Linked DNA regions of Homo sapiens: all the other regions are linked to region 3. The links are contacts of gene promoters, found by promoter capture Hi-C in blood cells and fetal thymus (Javierre and others, 2016). All regions are on one chromosome and are shown on one strand. Each heading gives the region's core, a stretch centred on a gene start or on the middle of the fragment in contact. The rest is flanking DNA. Distances are from core to core; before and after follow the strand shown.

Region 1 (3,991 bases), core at 445-2,944, 1.3 Mb before region 3:
CAGAGGAGCACTGGGCGTGAATCCCCGGACCACCTCGACCAGTGACAGGCCAGCAGCAGAGGGCGGCGGAGGAAGGGTTAGGGGTTCATTCTCCCGCTTCCTGGCCTCCCTTCTCCTTTCTAAGCCCTGTTCTCCTGTCCCTCCATCCCAGACATTGATGGGGACATTTCTTCCCCAGTGTCAGCTGTGGGGAACATGGCTGGCCTGGTAAGGGGGTCCCTGTGCTGATCCTGCTGACCTCACTGTCCTGTGAAGTAACCCCTCCTGGCTGTGACACCTGGTGCGGGCCTGGCCCTCACTCAAGACCAGGCTGCAGCCTCCACTTCCCTCGTAGTTGGCAGGAGCTCCTGGAAGCACAGCGCTGAGCATGGGGCGCTCCCACTCAGAACTCTCCAGGGAGGCGATGCCAGCCTTGGGGGGTGGGGGCTGTCCTGCTCACCTGTGTGCCCAGCACCTGGAGGGGCACCAGGTGGAGGGTTTGCACTCCACACATCTTTCTTGAATGAATGAAAGAATAAGTGAGTATGCTTGGGCCCTGCATTGGCCTGGCCTCCAGCTCCCACTCCCTTTCCAACCTCACTTCCCGTAGCTGCCAGTATGTTCCAAACCCTCCTGGGAAGGCCACCTCCCACTCCTGCTGCACAGGCCCTGGGGAGCTTTTGCCCACACACTTTCCATCTCTGCCTGTCAATATCGTACCTGTCCCTCCAGGCCCATCTCAAATCACAAGGATTTCTCTAACCCTATCCTAATTGTCCACATACGTGGAAACAATCCTGTTACTCTGTCCCACGTCCAATCATGGGCCACAAGGCACAGTCTTCTGAGCGAGTGCTCTCACTGTATTAGAGCGCCAGCTCCTTGGGGCAGGGCCTGGGCCTCATGGCTTTTGCTTTCCCTGAAGCCCTAGTAGCTGGCGCCCATCCTAGTGGGCACTTAAGCTTAATTGGGGAAACTGCTTTGATTGGTTGTGCCTTCCCTTCTCTGGTCTCCTTGAGATGATCGTAGACACAGGGATGATTCCCACCCAAACCCACGTATTCATTCAGTGAGTTAAACACGAATTGATTTAAAGTGAACACACACAAGGGAGCTTGCTTGCAGATGGTCTGAGTTCTTGTGTCCTGGTAATTCCTCTCCAGGCCAGAATAATTGGCATGTCTCCTCAACCCACATGGGGTTCCTGGTTGTTCCTGCATCCCGATACCTCAGCCCTGGCCCTGCCCAGCCCATTTGGGCTCTGGTTTTCTGGTGGGGCTGTCCTGCTGCCCTCCCACAGCCTCCTTCTGTTTGTCGAGCATTTCTTCTACTCTTGAGAGCTCAGGCAGCGTTAGGGCTGCTTAGGTCTCATGGACCAGTGGCTGGTCTCACCCAACTGCAGTTTACTATTGCTATCTTTTCTGGATGATCAGAAAAATAATTCCATAAATCTATTGTCTACTTGCGATTTTTTAAAAAATGTATATTTTTATATATATTGTTAAATCCTTTGCTTCATTCCAAATGCTTTCAGTAATAATAAAATTGTGGGTGGAAATTCTTATTTCTTTTTTAATGTGGATTTTGTTTGCAGTAAGATAAAGCTTGGGTCTCATGGATCATCTCTACTCACCATAGCACTCTTCTGCTTCCTAGGGGAGGTGAGACAAGGTAACAGATTTGAGAATCCTGGGGTCCCTCTGCTTGTGGCCGCAGTAGGGTCAGGCAGTGCCTCTAGTGGTTGCTGGGAATAGGACAGATTCCTGCCTGCTGGTGGAGGTATATTCCAGGAGTCTGCAGTGTCAGGACACCAGGAGGCCTGGGTGTCGGTCCACGTGCTTGAAGGAAGATGGTGGAGATGCTCTAGCCAGTTCTGCTTCCTATGATGCCCCTTCTGAGAAAGGGGCGGGGCAGTCCTCTTGTTCTGTCACAGAGAACTGTGACGCTTCCTCCTCCAAGGCAACTTCGCTCCGCTGTGGGCTCTTGGCTTTGACATGGACTCTCCTGCGAGATATTCAAGGTCTGTTCTTCAGTGTCCTTTCCTGTGCTCCCTCCTGTCCGAGCACTTGTCACACAGTACTGTGTGCCTATTATACCTGTGTACAGGTCTGTCTCTGCCTCACCCTGTATGATTTGTAAGGATAGGAACTGTAGCTTCTTTATGGCCTGGCATGTGTTGACCCTTGACAAAGGTTTGTTAAATGAATAACATTTGGTATCACAGTATCTTGCCCAAGGACATCTCCTAGCTCTCTAGATACTCTGAGGTGCCTTCCAGTCCTCACGGTGCAAGGTTCCACAAGCATGTTCTTGAGGGAGCCACGGAAGCAGAGGCGGCCACCTTCCCCCAGGTTTGACTTGACTTCTCTCTGCCCCTCAAAGGACTCTGAAGGTTCACCTGCCTTAGCTCCAGGCTTAGGGAAGAAAAGGAGGGAAATCGAGACCCACTGCATTAATTCAACAACAAATATTTTGTGAGCATCTACTACGTGCCAAGCAGTGTGCTGTTTGCAGAGTATATAAAAGTCACTAAGAAACTGTTATTCAGGAGGAGCTAAAATCTAATGGCGGTCACAGACATAGAAACATAATTACATGAGCAAGAGAAGGGGCTACAGGACACAGGAGGGCCTGAGTAACTCAGCCTAAGGGAGTTCAGGAAAGCTTCAGAGAGGAGGTTGCATTTGGGCTGCATCTTGAAGAAGAATGAGGAGTTTTACAAGTGGAAAAGGGCTGGTGCTGACATTTCTTCTGTCCTCCAATGCATGTTTCTATTACTTGGGTGTCAAATCATATTATCACTCAGTAAGACTACAGTTTCCTGCTGAATTTATTTCGGTCCACAGACTCTGGGAATTGGACTGTTGTAGGTTCTTATACAATCAAAATTAGCCCAGCAATGCAGTCTCCTTAGAATGTTAGGCATCCCTTCCCAAATTATGGTTTCCAGCTGCTGGTTCAAAGACTTTATGGTGTTTTAGAAGAGAGACAAATGCTACCCATTAATTGAGGGAAGATTGTGTACTATAAACCCTTATTAGGCACTTCAGACAGTTTTCCATATAATCCCCACTCGCAGTTTCAAATACTTGGGCATATGCCAATGTTAGGTGTTCATGTTATCACCTAAGGAGGGACTCTGGCTGCCCAGAGAGGAATCCATGAACTGATACACAGCTTGGTAAATTAGCCACTCTTCAGGATCTTGTTATTTATTTATTTATTTATTTTTAATTTTACTTTAAGTTCTGGGATACACGTGCAGGACGTGCAGGTTTGTTACATATGTATACATGTGCCATGGTGCACCTATCTACCCGTCATCTAGGTTTTAAGCCCCACATGCATTACATATTTGTCCTAATGCTCTCCCTCCCAAAAAGTCTTGTTCTTAAGCTGCTTTTGTGACACAGTGACAGGGCCTCAGCTCTCAAATGCAGAGTCACATTAACCAAGCTCACAGTGCCTGATGTACAATGCTTATAGCAGCAGCACTTGCTCTGGGCCAGGTACTGTTCTAGGCCTTTTCCATAGAACATCTCATAATCTTCACCCTATGAGATAAGTGCTATTATTCTTCCCATTTTACAGATGAGGAAGCTGAGACACAGTGAATTTAAGCAATTTGGATCAACACAGAATGTCAATTTGCTATTTATAGCTGTCAAGTAGACCAGCCTTTCTGTCCACCTGACCCAGGCCATCTCACCCCATGGGCACTATGCCCTCAGTTGCTTACTGGGCATGGAATCAGAATAAGAGAAGTCGGCTACTATCAAGGAGCTCTCATCTTTGATGGCAGTCTGTATCAGTAGGTGTCATATCCCCTGTGGAAATTCTGGAAGATTCTCTGGTCTTGGCTCCATCCCTGGATATTCTGGCTTGGGGCCCGGGGCATCTGCAGAAGTGATCCTATTGTTAAGTCTGGTCCGATGGGGAGGGCCTCTTTGGGGACGCTTGGCTATTGAGTTTGCTCACCGAGACTGCCTCTCCTCAGGTAGGTTTCCAGAAA
Region 2 (3,642 bases), core at 802-3,301, 1.1 Mb before region 3:
AAATTTTGTGTGAACTGAACAACGTCAGACTATGCTTCTTTGGGTCCAAATAATTTTAACTTTACAGCTCTCAGATGTTCTGGCAGCTCATTCTTTGTTCATTTCACCTATTATACAAGTGTTTCTGGGTCCAAGCCACAGAGCAAAATAGACACAAATAAATCAAATAATAAATGTTTCATATAAAGGAGAAAATGCTAATGGTCTGTTATCTATACCAGCAGTCCCCAACTTTTCTGGCACCAGGGACTGGTTTCATGGAAGACAATTTTTGCAGGGACCCAGGAAGTGCGGGGTAGTGGGTGGTAGGATGGCTTTGGGATGAAACTGTTCCGCCTCAGATCCTCAGGCATTGAGGAGCCTGCAACCTAGATCCCTCACATGTGCAGTTCACAACAGGGTTTGTGCTCCTATGAGAATCTAATGCCGCTGCTGTGACAGCGGGCGGAGCTCAGGTGGTAATGCTTGCTCACCTGCCGCTCACCTCCTGCTGTGCAGCCCAGTTCCTGACAGGCCATGGACCAGTATGGTCCGTGACCTGGGGGTTGGGGACCCCTGATCTACACTACTGCACTGTAGGCTCTAAGGGAACTTAAAAACAGAAAAATAATGGAGAGAAGGTGTTTGTAGAACACAGACATGTCAGCAAAGGCACTGAGTATCTACTCCTGAGTGGTTACCTTTCCCTTTCCCTTCAGTTGCTCTCAGCCATGCTTTCGGTGTCACAATCTTTTGGTGGTTCTCCTCCTCCTGGCAACTCACTCTCGATTTCCCACAGGACATCGTCTTCCTCCTCCAAGTTGCTGGAGATATGGCACTTCTTGAACCCTTGGACGATGGACTCACTTGAGATGCTATTCCACGCGACCATGACCCACTCCAGAAAGAGGCCCAGGGGTGGCTTCTTAGCATTCCCGGTTGGGCTCAGCGCCAGGTTCCCAGCCAGAAGCCAGTTGGAGTACTGGGCCCGCACACTGTCATTCAGTGGCTTGTAGACCACGACATCCAGCACCTGAAGCTGTGAGGTCAGACCCCCTGGGATGATCACCATGTCAGTGTTCATGCTTTCCATGGAGTTCTTCACGGAATCTGTGGCATGGCCCCGGAAGCCATTCAAGATCAGCATCCCTCGCTGCTTGGGCACTGCTCCTGTCCTCCGTCTCCACACCACTTCCAACCAGTCCTGCATCAAGTCTTCAGTCATCCACCCATACCGGTGGCAGCGAATTTCCATCCCACTGGGAAACTTCCCCGGGGGGATATATGTTCCCCTCAAAATGATGTACGGTGGTAACTTCCTCCCATCAGCCAAGACACCAAGCATTGCTGTGATTTTCAGTTTTTCCCTGCCTGGTGTCTTGACCAAGACAGGCTTTTCGCCCTGGTTATCAACAGTTACCCGTGATGGCACCTCTAAACAAATGGGCGTCTCATCTGCATTCCCCATCTGAGCTACCTCATAGTCATGCGCCCTGCGCAGAGCCAGGACACTGCGCTGGTAAGTGACGAGTTTCTCAGTCAGGTCTTCCGGCAGGTGCTGGGGCACGGGCACTTTATGCCTCAGAGACAGGTCATACCTTCTCATCATTCTTCGACACCAACCCAAGCTTGCCTTGAACCCTTTCTCTGGAATGTTCATTTCCTGGGCGATTTCGAGAGCTTTCAGCTGCATCGCCTCCCGGGTGATGGGGTCCCCTTTGGCCTGCATGTATCTGACATATTCGGCCACACGCTGGTCCACCAGAGCAAACCTCCCATTCTTGGGGCCTCGGAATGCCCGCCGCATGGCGTGGGCGTTTTGAAGCTGTGGCTTCACTTTGCGCCAGTCTCGAACGTTTTTTTCCAATACTCCAAACTGCTTGGCAGCCTGGCAGTTGTTGGTACTCTCAGCATATTCCACTACCATCAGCTTGAACCCTGCGTCGTAACTGCGGCGCATGCCCCGGCTGAACTGAAACTTCCCAGCTATGTCATCAGCCGAGAGGTCATACCCTGGGAAGCCCATGGCCATGTAGAAGGGGTACCCCTCACTCCACTCGGGCAGCTCTGTGATATCCCGAGGCAGACGGAGGCCAAAGCTGTCAAAGTGCTGAGGCTGAGGAAACTGGGAGGTAGCATTCATTGGGTTTGGCCAGTCTGGAGGCTTTACGTCAGATTCTTCATTTTCTGGGAGACAAATAGTGAGGGGCAAAAATAATGCCAGTAAGTAAAATGGCTTATACCCTGATTTTTGGGGGTTGAAATGCTAAGAATACCTTAATCTGAAGTTCACCAAAAGTAGTAACTTTAATAACAGGTAACATTGCCTAAGTCCTTTTCCATATGCCAATTTATGTGGACTACCCACACCTAGTTCTCTTAATAGAGTAACTCTAAGTATCACTGTTCCTTCTTTGCAGATGAAGAAGGGGAGGCTACAGAGGTTACATAATGCACCAAGGTAGCCAAGCCAGAAAGTGGCAGAGCTGGGAACTCAACAGAGGAACCAAGCTTGGACCAAATAATTTGGGGGCCATGTTTGCATCAAAATACTTTTTATGTGAATGAGAAGCCAAATGTTAACCATACTACCATATAATATTACAGAGATGCATCATGGCCTGAATCATATCCCTTTAGAACCAAGAAAACCTACAGCAAAAACCACACTTAGCAAAGTTAAGCTTATAAGGCAGAAAATTAGTTCTTGCACATTAATGGTGCAACCAGGTTTCACTTTATATTTAGAAGGTGGTCACAGAAGTTGAATATGATTTGGGGAAATTACCCTATCTCACCCAAACTAAAATGTCATCAGTTGTAGGATGCATCATTATGTGCCATTAAGAAAGAAAACACTACTAATTAAGCTATGACATGCCACTGATTTTAAGAGGCATTCTCAATTTCAGAAACAGTAAAGCAATGGGAGAAAAACATGTCTCAGAGTCAGTGAAATATGGCATTTTAAACTCTTACTTCCGGAGAAAAGATAAAACTATTTTGGCCGTCTGGAGGCAATGCTATATTTATTCAACTGTGGCCTCAATAACCATTTTTCTTGACAAAGGACTAGGTACTTCTTAGATACATTTGCTCAAATGTATGCTATGATTGCTATTGCTTTTTCTATCCAGTATGAGATGGACAGGGAGCCAGGTAACTCAGGAAGTGTGCTTCCTCTCACTATTCTTAGTTTGCAGAGGCACATGGTACGCCACTGAGGGAGCCCTGTTCAGCCAGAAGGTGCACTAGACCAAATGCTGCACAAGCCTCATTTTGCTTCATCCACAAACAAGGTCATACATCAAGTCTTGTTACTCAGAGCTGATAGAGGAAGAATGGAAGCTCTGAGGTAAAAGCAGTTGCCTGTCACACACTGTCACACATTTAGCACTGCAAAGAGGGAGATTTCAAAACTCCAAAACCCATAATCCTTCTACCTCTTAAATACCCCGTGGAATGTACACTGAAAATCCCACTCCACAATGTTCCCAGCTGGATGGACGCTGAACTGCTTTACTTGTAGTACCTGCAGAGGTGCCTCCTTGGAGCTGCCACTCGTCAGAATTCTGAGACTCCTCCTCCCCTTCCAAACGGGTGATCATGTCTGGCTTAGGGAATGGGAATTCTGTTTATAGGAAATAAAATAGGTAACAGCTG
Region 3 (3,422 bases), core at 63-2,562:
GCCTGGCCAACATGGCAAAACCCCGTCTCTACTAAAAATACAAAAAATTAGCTGGGCGTGGGGACGGGCACCTGTAGTCCCAGCTACTTGGGAGGCTGAGGCAGGAGAATGGCTTGAACCCGGAGGCAGAGGTTGCAGTGAGCCGAGATTGTGCCATTGCACTCCACCTGGGCAACAAGAGTGAAACTCCATCTCAAACAAACAAAAAAACACCAATGATAGGAGGAAGTACAAGAGGATACAGCTCAGCCAGCTTCCAGGTTTTCACCCATACACACACACACCCCAGTGTGAAAAAGCTGAAACCGTCTACAATGGCTGAAACCACGCTGCTGAGACATTTTTGAATTTTAATTAGTTAGCAACACTTATAAATTAAGTTTCACATAAAACCCAGGATTTCTGGATTTTCCTGAGAAACGAAGACATCTCAGAAACTGGGTGCTCATTCTCCTAGAGAAATGGGTTGGATTTGGGTATCAAATTCTCCTTTCAGATGAACTTAATGCTCACTTATCCATCGTAGTAACTTCCACCATTTGTTTAGGCTCAGCTTGCATAAGATAATTTATTTTCTCTCGCCAGTCTAGGCATCTGGGTTTAAGACCCCTTCTCTAGATACATTACTCACTGCACTATCACACTATGAATTTTCAGGCATCCGTGCTTTGACTTCCACTTTGCCTAGAAAGTCCTTTGCTATCTCCAAAAGTACTCCTACTCCCCTAAGGCACTGCTTCAATTCCTTTCATTAGCTTCTTCTGACCACTCTCTCAACCGTGTCACGCAGCACTGTGGTAATACCTCTATTAAAACCCTTATCAGAGCGTATGCACAAGCTTCTCCTCTTCGCGCTGACGTTCGCTCCTTGAGGCCAGCGGCCCACAACTAACTCATTTCGCGGTTCCAGCTTCACGTCCATGCCCTGGCACCTACACCCAGTCGTTCAGTACCTTTGCGGAAGTCAGTCTTCTTACTTCACGGCAAACCCAAGCTAAACTAATATTACGACCACAGAAGTTGGGCTGAGGTAGAAGTCAAGACTATCCCAATAACTGGATTCTGGCCGAGAAAAAGGCGCGCGCCAGCACCCCAGTCAGTAAAATCTACCGGGCAAAGTTCGCCGCCGCCACTATCCTCCTCTGGCTCTGAAATAGTTCCAATTCTCGCGAGATTCGGCCTGACTACCAGCCCTTCAGCTCCAGTGAGTTGCGGGTTGGTTTCCTCTAGACTCTCGTGGCCACACCGTTCTCCGATACGAGCCTTTCCGGTGCTATGCCCCGGAAGCGGAAGTGCGATCTTCGGGCTGTCAGAGTTGGTCTGTTACTCGGTGGTGGCGGAGTCTACGGAAGCCGTTTTCGCTTCACTTTTCCTGGCTGTAGAGCGCTTTCCCCCTGGCGGGTGAGAGTGCAGAGACGAAGGTGCGAGATGAGCACTATGTTCGCGGACACTCTCCTCATCGTTTTTATCTCTGTGTGCACGGCTCTGCTCGCAGAGGGTGAGAGCGGGTATTTCTCAGACGTTTGATCAGTCCCCGGGAGGAAGGGCCCCGGGGTCCCCTGTGCCACCAGGGGAAAGATCGCGAGCCTTACTTGCTTGAGAGGCTCATCTACTCCACTTCAGGGAATCTCTGGGCAACTCGTGAACAGGAGCAGGAGGGGAGTATGGAGTCGATTGCCGAGTTTTCTTTGGTCTCAGGTAGATTTCACTTGGGTATTTGTGGAGACACCTTCACATCATGTTACTGTTGTTTTGGCTGAAGAGTCAGTTGTATTAGCCTTTGAAAAAAGTTAACTATGGGTAAATACAAAGCGAAAAGTTGGAATTCCTCCTTCTCCAACAGTAACCACTTTGTTTGTTGTGATCATTCCAGTCATTTCTCTATTAACATGTTGCTTTTAATGTTTTAGGCATAACCTGGGTCCTGGTTTACAGGACAGACAAGTACAAGAGACTGAAGGCAGAAGTGGAAAAACAGAGTAAAAAATGTGAGTATGGCAACACATTAGAAATAATTTCAACACGTCAAGCTCATTAAGTCCATGTTCACAATAAATATTTTAAGAGCACCAGCTGATACAAAGATGAACCTGACTTGAAGCCTATTTAGAAATAGAAGACTTTTATGCAAAATGTGTAATACCAACTAGAGGGAAGTGAGGGGCGTAGCAGATACATGTTATGTGCTGTGGTGGTTCTAAAGAAGAGGTTCAATCTGGCGCAGTGGCTTACTCCTGTTAATCCCAGCACTTTGGAAGGCTGAGGCAGGACTGAACTTAGGGGTTTGACACCAGCCTGGGCAACATAGGGAGACCTCGTCCCTACAGAAAAAATTAGCTGGGTATGGTGGTACACACCTATAGTCCCAGCTATTTGGGAGACTGAGGCATGAGGATCCCTTGAGCCCAGGAGATTGAGGCTACAGTGGGCCACGATGGTGTCACTACACTGCCTCCTGGGCAATAGTGAGACTTGTCTTTAAAAAAAAAAGAAGAAGAGGCTTCATTCAGTTGTGAGGAACCATGGTAGCCTTCATGATGCTGATGGCCTTGCAGTTCCTTGTGGATAGTTAGAATTTGGATAGAGAATGAAATGGGGAAAGGAAATTCCAGGTAAAGAAATAACATATGAGCAAAAATATGGAAATCTTAACATTTAAGGCATGTTTGGAGGATGATATGTCATTATGACTGGTGTCAAGGTAAGTGGTGTCTTCAGAGATAAGCCGAGTTTCAGTTGGGTTAGAAAGTTGAAGAGGTGTTTAAGGAAAAGATTAAAAACAAGAAGGGTTTGTTACCTTTGAAATAAAGCAGGAATTCCACAGGACTCAGCTAAAGGTACAGGGTGAATGGTTCCTTATAGGCCTGATTTAGTTTTCTCTCTTCTTTTTTTCCTTATAAGGATTAAATATAACTTTTGTTTCTTAGAATTCCTACAACTTTCTGTATTCTGTGACTTTTTCTTATATCTTCATAGGGGTTTGAAGTTTTTTTTCTTAAATTACCATATTTGATCTACACAGCAACCATTTGTGGTTACTCGTATAAATATTACCTCCATGTCATAGGAAAGAAAATTGAGCCTCAGGATGATAATGACAACTTACGTCACAGAGCAAACAAAGAATTAGAGACCAGACTCAGGCTTTTAAAATTACAGCTTACTGTTCCTTAATTTACTCAGTGTTGATTATGTACCTCAGCATATCTGGGCCAAACTCGTTATCTTTACCTTCACAAACGTGATATTCTTCCAGGATTTCCCTATCTTGGTGATGGGTACCTCCATGCTTCCAGTAGTGTAAGCCAGAAACCTTGATATGCTTTATTAATTTGGCTCCAGGACACCATACTTTCGGTTTTGCTGCTCTCCATCTTACTAGTCATCCTTTTTTTATTTTTTATTTATTTATTTATTTTTTG
Region 4 (3,974 bases), core at 479-2,978, 1.1 Mb before region 3:
CCCAGGCAAATTCAGGTTCTGTTGGGAAGGACAGGAAGAAGGGTTGATTCAGAGTTTATGTTATGCACTTTAGCTTTTTATTTCTTCTTCCTAATCTGTAAAGTGGGGAGAGAGACATGTGCAGCCTTGGCAGACAGAGGAGGTCCAGGATCTCACAGAAAAAGAGAGACTTTTGCATCTGTCAAAAGAAAGAAACTGGCTGGGCCTGGTGGCTCATGCCTCTAATCCCAGCACTTTGGGAGGCCAAGGCGGGTGTATCACCTGAGGTCGGGAGTTTGAGACCGGCCTGACCAACATGGAGAAACCTCATATCTACTAAAAATGAAAAATTAGCCGGGCATGCTGGCACATGCCTGTAATCCCTGCTACTCGGGAGGCTGAGGCGGGAGAATCGCCTGAACCCGGGAGGCGGAGGTTGCAGTGAGCCGAGATCACGCCACTGCACTCCAGCTAAAATCTCTCTGGCACCAAGGAGGAAGGTCACTCCTAATATCAAAGGGACCCATACGACAAAACTGCTGCATGGATGAGGTAATGTGAATGTCAGTGGCTGTATTTTGTTAACACAGATATCTGTCTGCAACCAATGAGACTAAGCAGCCTTGTGGGGGAACTAGGGAAGAAGGCAGAAAAATAAAACCCTGCTGGCCCTGGTTTTTGTGTTTTAGAAATCCAGTCTTTTGGCCTGTGAGAGAATGATCACAGAAGATTCTAAAACTGTCTCCCTTTTGGAAGTCACGTCTATAACATTTGAGAAATCAGCCCTTGAATATAAAAAAAACAAATTGGGACAGTGCCATTGAGGGCAAAAGGAGCCTTGGTTCAGGATGAGGGAGGGAAGAGGAGAGGACCAGCAAGAATAATGTCTTGGTGTCAAAGCCTCACCTGCTCTCCAGGCAGACAGATTCTCTGGTTGGGGGGCTTTCTTGCTTGTCATTCTATGAATAAGGAACTTGTTCAAAAGCTGTTCATAGTTGGCCATGGAGATGAGCTGTAGGAGAAGTTCTTAGTTAATGTTTGTAATAACCCCGAGGGACCTAGTGATTGTAAGGTTGATGGGGATCCGGCCATCTGTTCTCCCCCAAGAGGAAGGGAGCAGAGTTTATTTTCAATCGTTGTTGTTGCTGCCAAGAACCTGAGAAACTCGGGGAATGTGGAGCATTTGAGGCATGCTCAATTAGTTTGTGTTAGATATACAGAGTGTGAGCCCCTTGTAGCCACAGACTATACTTCCAGGCCACCAACTCTGATTGCTAAAAATGGAAGGTGACCAAAGAGACCAGGCAAAGCTATAAAGCTATTGGGGCTTTGCTTCTGCTTTTGAATGTGCTTTTGGTGTGCTCCACCTGTCATCTTGTATTCCTTCAGGAAGAGCTTGGTCTAGGGATTTTAAACATCAGAGTAAATTGTTACAAAAGTCGAATGGAGAAGGTGGGAAAATCCAAAGCAAGCAATTTTTCATTTAACCTTAGAAATAAACTGGAGTTTTAATATAAAAGTAACGGTAACTTAGAACTACCCATACCACCCCACAAAACAAAAGCTCTACACTTTCATCTATTTTTTCTACTTCTGTTGGTGGCCTCATCAACTGCAGGTAATTAATATAAGTCCTAGGAATCATCACAGACTTCTCTTACTTTCTCACACCAGTACAGGAGTCAAATGTCCAAGTCCCAGAGTCAGACCTCCTGAATTCAAATCCCGTCTTTGCCACTTTCCAGGTCTGTGAATTAAACAAGTTATGTAGCCTTTCTGAGCTGTGGTTTACCCATCTTTGAATATGGATAACAACCCTATCTGCTTCATAGAAAGAAATTAATATTAGAGAATATTGTAATTATCCAAGCAATTACTGAGTCCTGTTGATTTTACCTTTTCAATATCTGTTGCATTTGTTATCTATGGCAATCTCAAAGTGTGTGCAATGAGATGAAATGTTTTATTTGTGGGGGTAGGATGCTTGTGAGAAAAGACATCAGAGAGCAAAAGAATAGTGGGAAATGGAAAAGGGACAGACATGAACAACTCAGGGTTTTTGAAGAGGGCGATGGGTGAGACAGGCCTGGGGTGGAGGGCATGAAAGATGGCAATAGAGAGAAGGAGGCTGCCATGGGGGTGGGGGGAGCATGAAAGGGTAGCAATAGAGAGAAGGAGCCTGCTGTGGAGGGCATGAAAGGATAGCAATAGAGAGAAGGAGGCTGCCATGGGGGTCATGAAAGGGTAGCAATAGAGAGAAGAGAGGCTGGGAGGCTGACCTGAGTGTGGAACTTTGGAGAGAGATATATACTGACATTTGAATGACCTGGGTGTCTTGTTGAAAGTACAAATTAGGATTCAGCACAATTTAGGTGGGGCCTGAGATTCTGCATTTCTAGCAGCCTCCCAGATGACATCAACTGTGCTGGATTTTAAATGACTCAAAGTATCAAGGGAGTAGAGCCAATCCTTGCATTGTCCTTTGACCTATGTAGCCATCTTTGGAACTCTTACAGATCTGTTTGCATTCTGCTCTCATGGAGCTTGTCCCAAAATAATTCTTCATCTTCCCCTAGCCCTCTTGTAGATATTCACATAAGTACCAGAGCAAGGAGAAGAAGGGTTGTATTGAAAAAAGCTAATATATACATATTTTGAAATGATTTTAAAAGCAGATCTAAATGCTTGAATGTTTGGTATCAACTGAGCCATAAAACATGAAGAAATATTTGATTTTCTGAAATCCAGCTTTTTCTATGAACAAGTTCTTGAGAGGACAGCAAAAAGGCCCATGGCTCATCTTAAATCTGCTAACTCCTGTCAGCTTGTAAAGTGAAATAGATTACACTCAATTACAGCTTACACAATCACATAACCAAAGAATTTGGTTAGCACGTGTATGTTCAAATTCCCCCAGACTGTAAACTCCTTGAGGATAGCAATCGTGTCTTTTTCTTTTTCTTTTCTTTTCTTTTTTTTTTTTTTGAGATGGAGTCTCATTCTGTCACCCAGGCTGGAGTGCAGTGGCACGATCTCGGCTCATTGCAACCTCTGCCTCCCAGGTTCAAGCAAGTCTCCTGTCTCAGCCTCCCAAGTAGCTGGGACTACAGGTGCCCACCACTATGCCCGGCCAATTTTTGTATTTTTAGTAGAGACGGAGTTTCACCATATTGGTCAGGCTGGTCTCAAACTCCTAGACCTCAGGTGATCCACCTGCCTTGGCCTCCTAAAGTGCTGGGATTACAGGCGTGAGCCATTGCGCCCGGCCAATCATGTCTTTTTCATCTTTTTATTATTATCATAATTATTGGCTTTTTGAGAGAAGGGTCTTGCGTTGTCACCCAGGCTGAAATGCAGTGGGGCAATCATGGCTCACTGCAGATTTTACCTCCCAGGCTCAAGGGATTCTCCCACCTCAGCCTCCAAAGTTGTTGGGACTACAGGTATGTGCCACCATGTCCGGCTAATTTCTTTTTTTTTTTTTAAGATGGGATCTTCCTATGTTGCTCAGGCTGGTCTTTGAGCTCCTGGCTTCAAGCAATCTACCACTTTGGCCTCCCAAAGTGCTGAGATTACAGGTGTCAGCTACTGCATCTGGCCTCCTTTTTGTCTTTGTTTCCTTAACACTAAGTACATACTAGGGACCCAAATATTTGTTAGGAAAAAAAATGAATGTCTTTGGCATTAAGAAAAGTAAATGATCTCATCATGTCATATCATGTACAAGTGATAAGAGAAATAATATGCAAAGCTTCAGAGTGTGCCCTCCTTATCCAGAAGAGGTGGAAAGATTGTCAGATGAAACACTGGTGAGAGCAGAAGCTACATTACACACCAGGTAGGGAGGGTGTGCTTTGAGCCACCTGGTTATCCAGCCATTCTGGACCTTTGGCTGGACACAGGCTGGAAGAGTTCTGGGAGCTACTTTGGGCCAGGGTGGGAAGACCACAAAGAGAAAAGAATAGCTTTGGGGTGGAGTTTTGGTAGAAAAGACA
Region 5 (3,963 bases), core at 1,026-3,525, 1.3 Mb before region 3:
TATACAAGAGAGGAGGACCTATGTTAAATCTCTCAATCCTGAGAGTTTTCCTAAGTGGGACCATAATGCTGAATTTTCTTTTCTTTTTTTTTGAGATGGAGTCTCGCTCTGTCGCCCAGGCTGAAGTTCAGTGGCGCGATCTCGGCTCACTGAAACCTCCGCCTCCCGGGTTCAAGTGATTCTCCTGCTTCAGCCTCCTGAGTAGCTGAGATTACAGGCACCTACCACCACACCTGGCTAAGTTTTGTATTTTTAGTAGAGATGGGGTTTCACTATATTGGCCAGGCTGGGCTTGATCTCCTGACCTCATGATCCTCCCACCTCGGCCTCCCAACATAATGCTGAATTTTAAAGGAGAAGTCTCTAAGCTCCATTTGGGCGAAGTGCCCTGGCCCATGAGTGCTGAGCACCTGCCCTCATTCCTGTCTTACTCCACTGGGGAAGCCTTTTGACACAGGAAGCAGGAGCCAGCAAGATCCCAAGAGCATCAGAGAAAAGTGAAATCAAGCAGAATGATAAATTCTTAGAGGGGAAGTTAATTTCAGATGTTTTAGTTAGGCGCTTCCAACTAAAGGCTCAATCACTTCAGTTATTCTTCACACCAATTTGGTGACAGAGATGTGATTAAAAGTCAGGTCTCCTGTTATGATTTATGACAGAAGAAAATGGACAGGCACACACAGTATTGTTTTAGCAGGCAATTAAGCACGACATTTCTTTAACGTCTCGTGGTTTGTCTTAAAATGTTATGCACATTTTTTTCATTCTACATGATAACATAACGTCGATGATTTTAATGTAAAAGAAAGTTTCAAATTACTTGTGGTAAAAAGAGGACTCTCCAGGAAGATGCCTCATGCCTCTTGGCATCTTGCCACTTGCCCCAGGCATGCACATGTCCCAGTTTAAAAGACACAGCTTGATTATGGATAAAAAATTATTTTAGTGCTAGGGAATGCTTCCATGGGCTTCTCCTCTCCTCATCCCTTTTCTTATAGTCTACGGCCTGTCATCCCCATATCCAGCCCCAGTCCTACTGAATCAAGCAGGGCCAAATTCCTACTCATCCTCTGAGGTTCGGGTCCATCATCATCTCTTCCAGCCAAGCCTCCTATGACCTTCCAAGTCCAGTTGTTCCCTTCCCTATTGTCTAGTCCACCACATACTAGATCCTGGTCATATTAATATCTAGCACACACCTGCCACATTGCAATCAGTCTATTTGCATATTTACCTCCTCCAGAAAGTAGGACACATACAAGTACTCAATAATATTTGTTAAATGAGTGAACCGAGGTGATGGCTGCAGGCTCCCTGGAGCTAATGGCCCAACCTGTCCCCAGCCCCTCCCAGCTGGGGCTGTGAGGGTGGGAGATAAGTGGTCACTTACTGGCTAGGGGAGGGGCTTCGGAGGTAGTGGGCCTGCACCGCCCTCACGTTGGCTTCGTCCTCCTCGCTTGGGACTACCTGCTCCTCCTCTGTGTCCTTTCTGGTCGCCATGACAACCTGCCAACCTCTGAAAGTTTGGCAAGAAAAAGGCAGTTAGGGAATTAGGTTCCTGAGGTTTTGTTGGGGGAGAAGTTGTGTTGGTGATGTCACCTCAGTGGAACTAGGACTAGGAAGGTCCCGGTGGGCAAAAGACCAGCAAGGAATATCCAGTCAGACCTGGCCCAGCCACTGTTACCGGGACACCAAGAAGTGCACCCCGCCATATTAGGAGCCCACCTTGAAGTGACAATATTGAAGTGCCAGTGTGGCTCCTTCCACAGATGTCAGCAAGGGAGCAGGCAGAGGAGCCAGCAGGTTACCTGATCTCAGCTCAAAAAGTTGAAGAACAATGACTTCCCTGGACCAGCAAGATTTTTCAGTTGAAATTATAGGATGTGCATACACACACGCCCCTCACCTATGCCCATGCGCACACCTTTGTCTCTGCTGGGGAAGACACAGCTGGCCTTCGGTGTCTCTAACCAAGGCCACAGGAGGTAGGGCCTTTGGCTCAGGCGTCATCCTGGAGCCTATTAAAGGACATGAAGGATACCAGCAGCTGGTCCCAGCCATCATGGTTGTGCCCTGACACTCAGGGCAAAGCCGCTGCCCCTTGTATTGTAAGTCCTGGGCTCACCAGGATTGACAAGGGGAGAAGCACACTCACCTCTAACCTGCCTGGATGTTCCCCACCAAGGGCTGAGGGACCCAGATGAAATGACTGAAGCTGAAGCTCCGGCCAGTGAGACAGGAACCAGCCACCTCCTTCCTCAGGGCTTCTTCTCCTAGGGGCAGGACAGCTGTTAACAGGAAACCTTAGCCACCCTCTAAATTTAGCCTCTGGCCCCATAGGCTGGCAGATTTCTGGGAGGAAGGAATGCAGGCTCTGGACCCAGGCCCCAAAGCAGTCCTCACTTAACTCTTTCCCTCCTGGCTGATTCTCCAGACGCTTACATTTAGCAGCAGAATTGGAAGACGTTTGTGCTTGGTAGATGGAGAATCTAAAGAACAGCTTTTCTCTGGGTTCTCTCTTCAGACCCTCTTGCCTGGGACAGCCTATTCAAAGTTCTTCCAGAAGAGAGTCTAAATCCAAAGATATAGAAGAATAAACAAACTTACCACAGCCGCATGTCAACTAGAGAGGCCTAAAAAAAGGACCAGATATATAGAATGGAAAGGGTACTCAACAGATAGATATTGGGAGAGCACTGTGGTACAATTAAAGAGTAGTCATTGCTTGTGACCAGGATTACATTTCTTTTTCTTTTTTTTTAGACAGGGTCTCGCTCTGTTGCCCTGGTGAAAGTGCAGTGGTGCCATCACAGCTCACTGCGGCCTCAACCTCTCAGGGTCAGGTGATTCTCCCACCTCAGCCTCCTGAGTAGCTGGGAGTACAGGCACATGCCACCACACCCAGATAATTTTTAAATTTTTTGTAGAGATGGGGTCTCACTGTGTTGCCCAGGCTGGTCTCGAGCTCCTGGGCTGAAGTGATCCATCCACCTCCGTCCACCAAAGTGCTGGGATTACAGGTGTGAGCCACCGTGCCCTGCCTGCATTTCTTTTAATAGACATGTCTCAGGATGGTCAACTGGACAGTTGTGCTCACCCTCCACATTTCCTCCCCTCTACTCACACCCCAAGGTGATAATGGATTGGCAACCCTGGGTGACTTAAGAATTCCATGAGCTTCATAAATGTCAAATAAGCTGTCTTACCCTACTAACCCCTCTACCATCACAATGATCAAAGCAAAGCCAAATAGCCCACACCTCTCATCCCACACATACCATAGTCATCCTTTCATCCATTTATCCATCCATTTACCAACTTAAAATATTCATTGATTACCTACTACATATGACACTTTACTTGACCAAAATTGGCAAAACACATAGCTTAAAGTTGTCTTTCTTCCTAGTTAGGTGGAATGATGCCTGGTATATCGTATCATTAGAAATGGCTGAATGAATGAGCTCACTGTTTATTAGGAGGAATGAGACACAGACCAAAAATAACTCAAGCATAAGAGAGAATGTAGTTAGTGTCCTAAAAGAGATCCAGAGTGCTGTGTGAGTTCAAAGGTGAGAAAGAGCCCTTCTGACTGAAGAAATCAGGAAAGACTTCATAGAAGCAGTGGTGATATATGAGCTGACTTCTAAAGGACAAGTAAGATTATAATAGCAGATATAGTAGGGGAAGGGAATTACCGAGGGGGTGGCATCAATAAAGTTTTGGGGGTAAGGAAGTATGAGTTCTGGGTATGAAAATATGTCTAACTTGGTCAGAGCATAAATTACGTATTCTGGAAGGTAGACTGTGTTTGAGAACAAATGCTAGAATACCTTAAAAGCTAATTTGTTAGGTTCTGCAGAGTCAGTGATAGGACCCAAGCAGACAAGTAATTAGGAAGACTAATTTGGCAAAGATATTATAAAATGTTGGGGCTGAACAATTATTACATATAATAAGAGA

Evidence for each region. The method cuts DNA at HindIII sites, captures the fragments that hold promoters and counts their contacts. A CHiCAGO score of 5 or more calls a contact.
Region 1: the fragment with the promoter of GPA33-AS1 here is called in contact with the fragment with the promoter of TMCO1 in region 3 in 1 of 17 cell types (M1 macrophages); the score reaches 5.7 in M1 macrophages.
Region 2: a contact is called between a fragment that was not itself captured here and the fragment with the promoter of TMCO1 in region 3, in 1 of 17 cell types (M0 macrophages). The highest score is 5.1, in M0 macrophages.
Region 4: a fragment that was not itself captured here is called in contact with the fragment with the promoter of TMCO1 in region 3 in 1 of 17 cell types (M2 macrophages); the score reaches 6.1 in M2 macrophages.
Region 5: the fragment with the promoter of STYXL2 here is called in contact with the fragment with the promoter of TMCO1 in region 3 in 1 of 17 cell types (M0 macrophages); the score reaches 7.0 in M0 macrophages.

What each region holds. Positions count from the first base shown.
Region 1 is chr1:167,050,388-167,054,378 of GRCh38, reverse strand. GPA33-AS1 (GPA33 antisense RNA 1) reads right to left here and starts at 1,694. Exons shown (of 6, transcript XR_922249.3): 1 at 1,613-1,694. GPA33 (glycoprotein A33) reads left to right here. Exons shown (of 7, transcript NM_005814.3): 7 at 1-1,543. The coding sequence ends at 45. The HindIII fragment of the contact is 1,060 bases long and covers 1,586-2,645 here.
Region 2 is chr1:166,847,462-166,851,103 of GRCh38, reverse strand. It overlaps POGK (pogo transposable element derived with KRAB domain), which reads right to left. Exons shown (of 6, transcript NM_017542.5): 4 at 3,512-3,610; 5 at 681-2,166. The coding sequence ends at 695. Among named protein-coding and RNA genes, the nearest start is that of POGK, 9.8 kb to the right of the region's middle. The HindIII fragment of the contact is 883 bases long and covers 1,610-2,492 here.
Region 3 is chr1:165,766,758-165,770,179 of GRCh38, reverse strand. TMCO1 (transmembrane and coiled-coil domains 1) reads left to right here and starts at 1,312. Exons shown (of 7, transcript NM_019026.6): 1 at 1,312-1,498; 2 at 1,911-1,988. The coding sequence starts at 1,429. It overlaps TMCO1-AS1 (TMCO1 antisense RNA 1), which reads right to left and starts at 1,251. Exons shown (of 3, transcript NR_125374.1): 1 at 805-1,251. RefSeq lists enhancers at 349-1,024, 1,025-1,701. The HindIII fragment of the contact is 3,297 bases long and covers 842-3,422 here.
Region 4 is chr1:166,898,383-166,902,356 of GRCh38, reverse strand. It overlaps a transcript of ILDR2 not described here. Among named protein-coding and RNA genes, the nearest start is that of TADA1, 24 kb to the right of the region's middle. RefSeq lists an enhancer at 1-361. The HindIII fragment of the contact is 4,008 bases long and covers 1-3,732 here.
Region 5 is chr1:167,092,387-167,096,349 of GRCh38, reverse strand. STYXL2 (serine/threonine/tyrosine interacting like 2) reads right to left here and starts at 2,275. Exons shown (of 6, transcript NM_001080426.3): 1 at 2,156-2,275; 2 at 1,391-1,516. The coding sequence starts at 1,500. The HindIII fragment of the contact is 6,143 bases long and covers 1-3,963 here.